Linked DNA regions of Homo sapiens: regions 2 and 3 are each linked to region 1. Evidence: promoter capture Hi-C in 16 types of primary human blood cells and fetal thymus (Javierre and others, 2016). All regions are on one chromosome and are shown on one strand. The core of a region is centred on a gene start or on the middle of the fragment in contact, and the rest is flanking DNA. Distances in the headings are between cores, read along the strand shown.

Region 1 (3,093 bases), core at 283-2,782:
TGCAAGAGCTTCTGGAGGTGGATTAAGTTTGGCAACTTGGAGGTTTACCGCAGCGTCACTTAAGAATAAGAAGACTGTGATCTCAGAAGCAACAGCTGGGCAGACAAGAGCATGGGCTGCAGCACAAAAATAAAAATATTGTTGATGTTAGGAAAGTCGATTTTTCTCTCATGGCTCCCTGAGGTTACACCAGACAGGATCCCCTGGGTTCTATGTTTCTATACCATTATTGTGCTGATGACAATACCAGAAACTCCAGGTGTGACTTTCTCCGGGTCACACAACAAAGGGAAGAGCTTCATATCCTCAGCTAGACTTCTTTTTCTTTTTTTTGAGATAGGTTCACCCAGACTGGAATGCAGTGGCACAATCTCGGCTCACTGCAGCCTGAATGTCTTGGGCTCAAGCGATCCTCCCTCAGCCCCCAAAGTAGCTGAGACTACCAGTGCCTGCCACCATGCCCGCTTTTGTGTGTGTGTGTGTGTGTGTGTGTGTGTGTGTGTGTTTTGTTTTGTTTTTTTTTTTTGTAGAGATGGGGTTTCGCCATGTTGCCCAGGCTGGTGCTGAACTCCTGAGCTCAAGTGATCTGCCCACTGTGGCCTCCCAAAGTGCTAAGATTACAGGAATGAGACACCATGCCTGGCCCACAGCTTGACTCTTGACAACCATAACCTTACTTCATTCTCATAGCCACTCCTGGCAGAAGCTTTAACCACCAGTGATAAGAGGAGGCTCAAGGAGGGTGAGCATTGTGCCCAAGATCAAGGGGTGGGAAGTGTCGAAGCCCAGGTTCACCCCAGACCTCACATTACATCATCTGACACAGATCCCATTCAGAAGTGAAGCTCAGGCAGAAGAATTCCTAACATTTGCCTGAACTGATTTTTCTATAAAACTTCTTAGATACTGGGGATTAGAAGAAATAGCTCTAAGCAGCCAGGCGCAGTAGCTCATGCCTGTTATCCCAGCACTTTAGGAGGCCGAGGCGGGCAGATCATCTGAGGTCGGGAGTTCGAGACCAGCCTGACCAACATGGAGAAACCCCATCTCTACTAAAAATACAAAATTAGCCAGCTGTGGTGGCCCATGCCTGTAATCCCAGCTGCTCAGGAAGGCTGAGGCAGGAGAATCACTTGAACCCCGGAGGCAGAGGTTGCAGTGAGCCAAGATCATGCCACTGCACTCCAGCCTGGGCAACAAGAGCAAAACTTCTCAAAAAAAAAAAAAAAAAAAGGAAGAAGAAAGAAGAAATAGCTCTAACCTTTATGAATCTTATTCAACAAGCACAGAAAAGGGTTTGGAATTTTGTTTGGTTTTGTGCAGACCCCAACCCAAAGCACAAATAGGTGATCTTGTGCTCAGAAGAGGGTGCATCCCAGGGGCTGGTGCTGGACTCATGACTGATGTACTCACCCTGGTAGCAGCAAAGGGCCAGCGAGACCATCAGGAGACACACTGACAGCCTCATGGTGGCTTATTCGGCTGTGAGCTCAGCTTTCACAATGAGTGATTTGGATTCGACTCCAGGAGCCTGTGTAGTCATGGAGGCCAGGGCTATTTGTACCTAGGGAGCCTGGCTGGTCCTACCTACCGGGGCACCTGGTAGGTCATGAGGCCTGGCTCCCAGCCCGCCCTTCCAAGCCAGGGCTGCTGCCGTCCATCAATGTCACCTCCTTAGGAATCTCTGCATCTGAGTGGGGCGGAGCACAAGACAGCAGCCTTGTGAGAACTCTGCTCTGTGCTCCAGGTGAGTGTTCAGGTACATCTGGAAATGTTCCTGGGATCCTCAATTTCCTTATGAGCTTTTGCTGATTAGTTCTTTTTATCTTTGTAGCAGTGCAGGGGCACAGGTGAATTATGGCTTCACAAGGCACAGGAAGCTGGAAGGCTGTGTTCTCTTTATGGGAGAGCAGGGACATAAGGAGACCCTGCTTTGATCCCCCTGCATGTCTGACAACAAGCAGGCTTGTTTCAGTTGCACATTGGGAAAGTCTAATCCTTCCCCTCAGCCCCTTCCATCACCACCATGTTCACTGCATAGGTACTGAAAACATAGTTGAATACATCCCACCTGTAGAAGATATGCTGAGGAAAAACATCTGCTGCACCTGTTCTCTAGCCTGCCTCACTCCCAAACCTGAATCTTGTTTATACGTGCAGTTATATATATGGCCAAGATTCACATTTTCTATCTATAAAAAGCAAGCTTTCTGTGATGTGTAGCCACCCACGTCTTATCTTAGGGCTGATCTGAAGATTAAATAACCTAACTCTTTTTCTCAAGAGCTTTTGGAGTGTTCAGAGCCAATCATACATCAGTGGGGCTCTAGGCTGGGAAGATAATAGAAGGGAAGAGACAGAGGAACAGGGTGGGTGGTCACTTCCCCCTAACCCCTAGGCTCAAGTTTTCCACTTCAAACCTATCTGTGCTGCCTGGGCCAATCCCATTTTTAAGGGAAAGTGAAGGAAGCCCCCAGACAAAGCAATACACACCCGCCTTCCCTCCCATTGCCGTGCCTTCATGTGGTGTGAGTTTAATCACCAGAAATTTTTCTCTTAAATAAACTTACATTTGAGAGGAGTCACAGCCCAGGCCATAGCTTTCCATTCTCAGCTATGTAGTCAAATCACTTGGAGCTTTTAAAACATACTGACCCCACAGGCTTCTCTCTCTGGCGATTTTGATTCAGTAGCATTGGGGTGAATCCCTCCTTTCTGTACTGTTTAAACTGCTCTGGTGTTTCTCACAGACAGCAGGGCTGAGATCCAGCCAGGAAAACCTTTAAGAAGGAAGGGGACCTTACGGGTTTTGTCATCAAAGACACATTGACAGATTTAGTTGAGTCCAAGCTGAGGGCAACAGTGGATCTCACTTTCATCACACAGGATGACGACGGAGTCCCTGAATCAGCCCTGCTGCCACCAAGGAGGGGGAGGGTTGGTGGTGAGGTTTACAGCTATGAGGGTTCAGATCCTCATTTATGGGCTCCTGGACCTTAGGAAAATTATTCAGTTTATGTAACCCCAGTTTTCTCATTTGTCAAAGTAGGCTACTAATGGTGCCTACATCATTGGGTTGATAGATGATCAAAT
Region 2 (3,492 bases), core at 572-3,071, 90 kb before region 1:
TAAATAAATAAATAAATAAATAAATAAATAAATAAAAATTAGCTGGGCGTGGTGGTGCACACCTGTAATCCCAGCTACTCAGGAGACTGAGGCAGGATAATCGCTTGAACCCGGGAAGGCTGAGGTTGCAGTGAGTTGAGATCACGCCACTGCACTCCAGCCTGGGCAATAAGAGTGAGACTCCATCTCAAAAAAAAAAATTTACAGAGTATCTCTCATCTTTACAAAAATTCACGGCCAGGCGGGCACGGTGGCTCACACCTGTAATCTCAGCACTTTGGGAGGCCGAGGTGGGTGGATCACCTGAGGTCAGGAGTTCGAGACCAGCCTGGCCAACATGGAGAAACTCCGTCTCTACTAAAAATACGAAAATTAGCCGGGCCTCGTGCCACATGCCTGTAATCCCAGCTACTCAGAAGGTTGAGGCAGGAGAATCGCTTGAACTCGGGAGGCGGAGGTTGCAGTGAGCCAAGATCGTGCCACTGAACTCCAGCCTGGGCAACAGGGCAAGACTCTGTCTCGAAAAAAAAAAAAATTCAGCATCACTTATACCCGTTTCACAAAGACAGAAAGGAAGCCCAGAGGGACCAGCATTGTAATTTGCCCAAAGACACAGCATGAGTACGTGTGGCCTCCAGGATCCACACCCACACCTGCCCAAATCTTATCACCTAAATCTCATCATCACCCAACCCCATTGCCACCCACTGCCTAGCACTGCCTGCCCAAGCAGTCAGTTACTCCACTCACTCACAGCATCCTCTCAGTCAGTGGATAGAAAACCGTAAAAGGCTAACAAAGAACTAAGCACAAATTAAATTATAAATATATTGTAAAATAAATTTGTAAAGTTGAATTAACTTAGTGTTGTAATTCTTAACAAGAATAACAAGAAGCTTTCAGTAGAGGTTAGATATTAATGTTTTCCCCAAAACTTAAAGCACTTTTCGGGGCTGGGCATGGTGGCTCACGCCTGTAATCCCAGCACTTTGGGAGGCTGAGTGAGGTGGATCTCCTGAGGTCAGAAGTTCGAGACCAGCCTGGCCAAAATGGTGAAACCCTGTCTCTACTAAAAATACAAAAATTAGCCAGGTGTCCTGGCGCATGCCTGTAATCCCAGCTACCCAGGAGGCTGAGGCAGGAGAATTTCTGGAACCCGGGAGGCGGAGGCTGCAGTGAGCCAAGATCGCACCACTGCACTCCAGCCTGGGCAATAGAGTGAGACTCTGTCTCAAAACAACAACAACAACAGCAACAAAACCCCAAAAAACAAAAACAAAAAAACCCGCTTTTCTGAAAAAGAAATGTCTATGGATTAGGAAGGTCTGCCTCCCATAGGAAGATGCAGGTATTGCACATAGCCCAAATATTTGATGATTCCAGGACCGGCAGATACACAAGTTATGAAACTGTTTGTACCTTGAAGAATAACGAGAAGAGGAGGAGACCAAGAGGAATAGAAGAAAAAGAATAGAAGGAGGAGGAGGAAGAAGGGAAGGAGGACTAGAAGAAAACTACAATAATAACAACATTGTTGAGACCACAAGATCACGCCACTGGGTTTTGCTTTATATTTTGGAAAACACTGTCACATCCATTTTACTAAAAGCCATGTATCATTATTGTAGTCCCCAGATTGTCAGGGATCCAAATATTACTGCCTTCTTGGTTTCTACAAACAGAGCACAGGCTGGCTGTGTTCCCATTGGTGTACACTATTGTGTCCTGGTCCCATGCCAGGTTGACACATTGCCTCATTCCTGGGAGGGACTAAGGTGCCTCCCTGGGGAATAAATAGAGCAGGGCTGGGTACTCACCTCCACAGCAACTTCCTTGATCCCTGCCACGCACGACTGAACACAGACAGCAGCCGCCTCGCCATGAAGCTGCTGATGGTCCTCATGCTGGCGGCCCTCCTCCTGCACTGCTATGCAGGTGAGTTCTGGGCAGAGAGGGCTGCTTCTGGGCTAGGAATTGTCACCTGGGCCCCTGTAGAAGAACTCCCAACCTCTAATCCCCAGCACAGACGAGCCCCAGTGTGAAGGGCCTGGGTGCGATAGGCCTTAGGATCCCCATGAGTTCCTGACAATCAAGCATGCAGTGTCCTCATGGGCTGTCCCCTGCATTGGAGCTGCACACAGTGTATCATGGCACTCAGCGTCTCACCATGGTCACGGTGACCATAGAAACCAGGATGAGTCTCAGGATTAAATATTGAAATGAACTATTTCAGTGGGGCAAGGGAGAGATGGCATCTACACCTAGAAATCAGGAAATAATCATGGGTCTCCTTGAATATGGAACGAAATAGGAAACCTCCCAGGACAGAAGGCCCAGGCTGCAGAGTGTGACCCAGTGTCTCTCACCCTGTGTGGCTCACTCTGTGTTCTCAGAGTTGATCTGGGTCCTTCTGGGATGCCCTTACCCTCCCAGTTGCTTCAGGCTCAAGGCAGACAGGTGAGAACTCACAACCCCTGGAGTCTCCTTCCAGCACTAAAGATTCAGTGGGAGGAAAAAGCCCCGGCTGCTGGAATCAGCGCTAATATTTCCATAGGTAGCCTGCCTTGTGCAGTTCACAAAGGTGGATTCCAAACCCTACCGTATTGGCATCCAAGGTAGGTGCAGATGTGTAGAAGGGTGACAAGCTCACAGTCAACTAACTGGAAAATCACAAAGTCCAGAGCACAACCAGCTCACATGAAGCCACGTCCTGAGCTCGTTCCTCTCCCTTACAGTGGGAGGTGACCTCAGATCCCCTCATGAACAAGCTCTATTTCACATTCATGTGTGTGTGTGTGTGTGTGTGTGTGTGTGTGTGTGTGTGTGTTTGAGACAGGGTCTTGCTCTGTCACCCAGGCTGGGACTGGGACTGGTGTGCAATGGCACAGTCTCAGCTCACTGCAACCTCTTCCTCGAAGGCTCAAGTAATGCTCCTGCCTCAGCCTCCCGAGTAGCTGGGACTACAGGTGGACACCACTATGCCTGGCTAATTTTTAAATTTTTTGTAGAGATGAGGTCTCCCTGTGTTGTCCAGGCTGGTCTTAAACTCCTGAGCTCAAGCAATTCGCCTGCCTTGGCCTCCCTAAGTGCTGGGATTACAGGCGTGAGCCACCATACCTGGCCACACATTCCCTTTTATTGCAGTAGAGTCAACAGAACTAATGGACAATGTCCTAGACCCATTCATCTGAAATCCTTGGAAACCCTACCTGATGCTGGGCATGATAACAGGGAAGCATTGCATGACTTTGAACCAAGAAAGTCCAAGTAGTGTTTGCTATGTCCCCCCAGTCAGAACACCTCATTTCTCGAGGGTCCTCTTCACCAAGAATACACAGGGTTGGGCTTCTCTGGGTTTGGAAGGTCAGAGAGAATTTGCAGAGCCTGAGTTTACACTCCCAGAATTGAGAACTCTGCATACTGCACCAAAATCTTTCTGAACCTCGGTCTGTCCCTGGAGGTACGAAGATAGCCAGCTTCCCAATTCATCTG
Region 3 (3,506 bases), core at 272-2,771, 110 kb before region 1:
CATAAACTAATTTTCAGAGGGTTCAATAGCCCATAGACATGGATCTGAACCCTCCTAGCCATGGGCTTTGCCACTGGACCTTCCACTCCTTAGGGTTGGAGGCAGAGGTGGCATCAGGGGCTTCCCCACCATTTTGGGTGATGGAAGTGAGAGGCATTGTCGCCCTCAGCTGGGACTCAGCCAGACCTGCCAAGGTGTCTCTGATGACACAGACCATAAGGTCCGCTTCCTTCATAAAGGTCTTTCTGGGTGGTTCTCAGTACTGCTGCCCATCAGACCCACCAGAGCAGTTTAAACAGAAGAGGACCTCGCCCTAGAACTACTGAATCAAAATCCCCAGAAAGGGAAGCAGCCTGCGGGGAGTCAGTATAGTTTAAGAGCCCCAAGTGATTTGATTGCAGAGCAGAGAATGGAAAGCTCTGGCCTGGGCTGTGACTGTTCTCAAATGTGTGTTCACTTAAGAGCCAAATTTCTGGTGATTTCCTACTCACCAAATGATGGCACTGCAGTGGAAGGGCAGAAGGGTGTCTATTGCTTTTGCTGGGGATGGCCTTCGCTTTCCATCAACAATGAGATGACCCAGGCAGCAGAGCTGGGTTAGAAGTGGAAAACTTGAGCCCAGAGGTTAGAGGGAAGTGACCACCCACCCTGTTCATCCATCTCTTCCTTTCCATTATCGTCCCTGCCTAGAAGCGAAGACCAGTATTTCTGATGCCTGTTTGCCTCCAGACACCCCAGCAGCTCCTTGGGTAAAAAAAGTTGGGCAATTTAATCATCCCATCAGCCCTATGAGGAGATATGGGTGGCTAGAGGTCACTGGAGGCTTGCTTTTAGTAGACAGAAAATTTGAACCTGTGCTATGTTGACAACTCCACCCATAAATAAAGACACAGATCTTGGAGTGAGACAGAGTAGAGGACAGGGGGAGTGGTTGTTTTCCCCAAGGAAATCCTCCAAAGGTGGGGTGTATGCAGCTATGTTTTAGGTACCTATGTGGTGAAGATGGTGGGGATGGAAGGGGCTGAGTGGGAGGATAGGTCTGGTTCAGACTTGATCTATGTGCAGCTGAAACACGTGTGGCTGATTGTCAGACATGCAGTGGAGGTCAAAGTGGGGTCTCTTCTGTGCCTGCTCTCCTATAACCAAACCACAGCCCCTAGCTTCCTGCACCCCCGGTTTCTGTCCTCCTGAAATGAGAACTCACATTTGCCCTTGCACTGACATAAAGAACAGAGAGATAATCCTCAAAAGCCCAAAAGCAAACTGAGGTTCCAGGGAACATTGCCAGAGGCACCTGGACACTCACCTGGAGCACAGAGCAGAGTTTCTGCAGGGCTGCCCTCCCGTGCTCCGCCCCACTCAGGATGCAGGGAGGTGTGGGGATGTGACACTGATGGATGGCAGCAGCCCTGGCTAGGAAGGGAGGGCTGGAAGCCAGGCCTCATCACCTGCCAGATGCCCATGTGGGCAGGACCAGCCAGGCTCCCTAGGTACAAATAGCCCTGGGCTCCACGGCTCCACAGGCTCCCGGGGCTGAGTCTAAATCACTCATCATTGGTTAAAGCCGAGCTCACAGCAGAATAAGCCACCATGAGGCTGTCGGTGTGTCTCCTGCTGCTCACGCTGGCCCTTTGCTGCTACCGGGGTGAGTACATCAGTCATGAGTCCAGCACCAGCCCTTGGGACACACCCTTCTCTGAGCACGAGGTCACCTATTAAGGTTAAGGTTGGGGTCTGGAACAAACCAAAATTCCAAACCTTATCCTGTGCTTGTTGAAGGAACTGCTCATAAAGCTCGGGCCTCATTTCATCAAATCCCCAGTACCTAGGAAGTTTTGCAGAAAATCAATGCAGGCGAACGTTAGGAATTCTGCCTGAGCTTCACTCTTGGATGGGATCTGTGTCAGATGATGTAATGTGAGGTCTGGGGTGACTCTGGGCTCAGCCACTTCTCAGCCCTTTCACCGTGGGCAAGATGCTCACCCTCCCCGCGCCTCCTCCTATCTCTGGTGCTTAGAGCTTCTTCCGGGAGTGGCAATGGGAATGGAGTGGGATTATTGTGCCAAGGGTCTAGCTGTGGATGTGAAGCCAATCACTGTACTGTCAGACATTCTCGTCCCCAGACCTTTAGGTGCCAATTGAGCTCACAGCTTCTTACATTGTAAATTCAGACTCATAAAATGTTACATCTCGAAGGATCCTTGGAGAACTCTCAGTCCAAGAAGAGATGGTGCTTTCTGATTCTCTCAATAAGAAGCCTGCAAATGAATTCTTAGAATAAGCAGCACTCAATATATCTTCTAGGGGTCCTACCGTAATGGTGGTAGAAATACTACAATGGTTAGCCTCAGAACTTCTATTTTTCTAAAATTAATTCTGGCTGATTTTTCCCCAGTTCATTTGGGTACTTTCCTTTCCCCTGTCAGGACCGATCCAGACTCTGATTTTTCTCTTTCCTCTTCTTTTCTGAACCTCTCCCTGTTTCCCTGTGACACCCCGATCCTACCCTCTCCAAATTCTCCCCACAGTTTGAAGTCGGGTAGTCAGGGGTCATGTTGAGCATGGTGGGGCGCTTTCTGGATGCATGGTGTTTGCAAAAGACTTAGGTGAATGGAGATTCCAGACCAAGCAAAATGATTACTCCAGGTCTTTCCAAAATTCCCAGTGGGAGCAGGAATGAGCCTCAGTTCCCTCCTCTCATCCTCTCCAAATATTCTAGATGCTGCTGCAGAATATGGGCCAAGTACAATTTCCTGTATAAGCTTCTAATGTGTGTTAAAACTGATTCACATTATTTTATTTTGTTTTAATTTGTTTACCTTTTAGCTCTGTCTGTATTGAATCACATAAGCCTAAATTCTACAACTTGTTCTCAAAACATCACCTTCAACATTTCAATAATTTTAACTTCTTCTGTTCCAGATTTACTCATTTCTCTAATTTCTGATAGGATTCTGACTCTACCATTCCACTTCAAAATTTGATTACTCAAAGCCTCCTCTTCACCAATGTCCAAGACTAATAAAGTGTCACTTAACTGGCATAGAAAAGTGATTATTTTCAAATCTAGAAAAGAGAACGTTGGCCATCCATCCAGAGAAGCTTTGGAAAGTAATGAGTGTGCTTTAAAAAAAAAACAAAGACTGAATGAGTGATCAGGAAGTTGGTTCTCCAGTTCTAGCTCTACCCTTTGCTGTGTGACCTCAAGGAAGTCACAACCTCCTGGGTCTGACATTGTCATTGGCATAGTTATTGAATAGAAGCCTAAAACCCTGGGGTTCCTGTCTGGTCTGACATCAGGGAGGCATGGGAGAAACACTGATTTCCTTACACAAATTATATTTTTATTCTTTTGCTCCAGCAAATGCAGTGGTCTGCCAAGCTCTTGGTTCTGAAATCACAGGCTTCTTATTAGCTGGAAAACCTGTGTTCAAGTTCCAACTTGCCAAATTTAAGGCACCTCTGGAAGCTGTTGCAGCCAAGATGGAAGTGAAGAAATGCGTGGA

What was found. The method cuts DNA at HindIII sites, captures the fragments that hold promoters and counts their contacts. A CHiCAGO score of 5 or more calls a contact.
Region 2: the fragment with the promoter of SCGB2A1 here is called in contact with the fragment with the promoter of SCGB1D4 in region 1 in 12 of 17 cell types (endothelial precursors, M2 macrophages, M1 macrophages and 9 more); the score reaches 15.5 in endothelial precursors.
Region 3: a contact is called between the fragment with the promoter of SCGB1D1 here and the fragment with the promoter of SCGB1D4 in region 1, in 5 of 17 cell types (M1 macrophages, endothelial precursors, M0 macrophages and 2 more). The highest score is 11.6, in M1 macrophages.

Annotation. Positions count from the first base shown.
Region 1 is chr11:62,297,543-62,300,635 of GRCh38, forward strand. It overlaps SCGB1D4 (secretoglobin family 1D member 4), which reads right to left and starts at 1,533. Exons shown (of 3, transcript NM_206998.2): 1 at 1,414-1,533; 2 at 1-116. The coding sequence starts at 1,468. The HindIII fragment of the contact is 1,500 bases long and covers 705-2,204 here.
Region 2 is chr11:62,206,852-62,210,343 of GRCh38, forward strand. SCGB2A1 (secretoglobin family 2A member 1) reads left to right here and starts at 1,822. Exons shown (of 3, transcript NM_002407.3): 1 at 1,822-1,935. The coding sequence starts at 1,881. The HindIII fragment of the contact is 6,226 bases long and covers 895-3,492 here.
Region 3 is chr11:62,188,695-62,192,200 of GRCh38, forward strand. It overlaps SCGB1D1 (secretoglobin family 1D member 1), which reads left to right and starts at 1,522. Exons shown (of 3, transcript NM_006552.2): 1 at 1,522-1,645; 2 at 3,362-3,506. The coding sequence starts at 1,591. The HindIII fragment of the contact is 8,999 bases long and covers 1-2,760 here.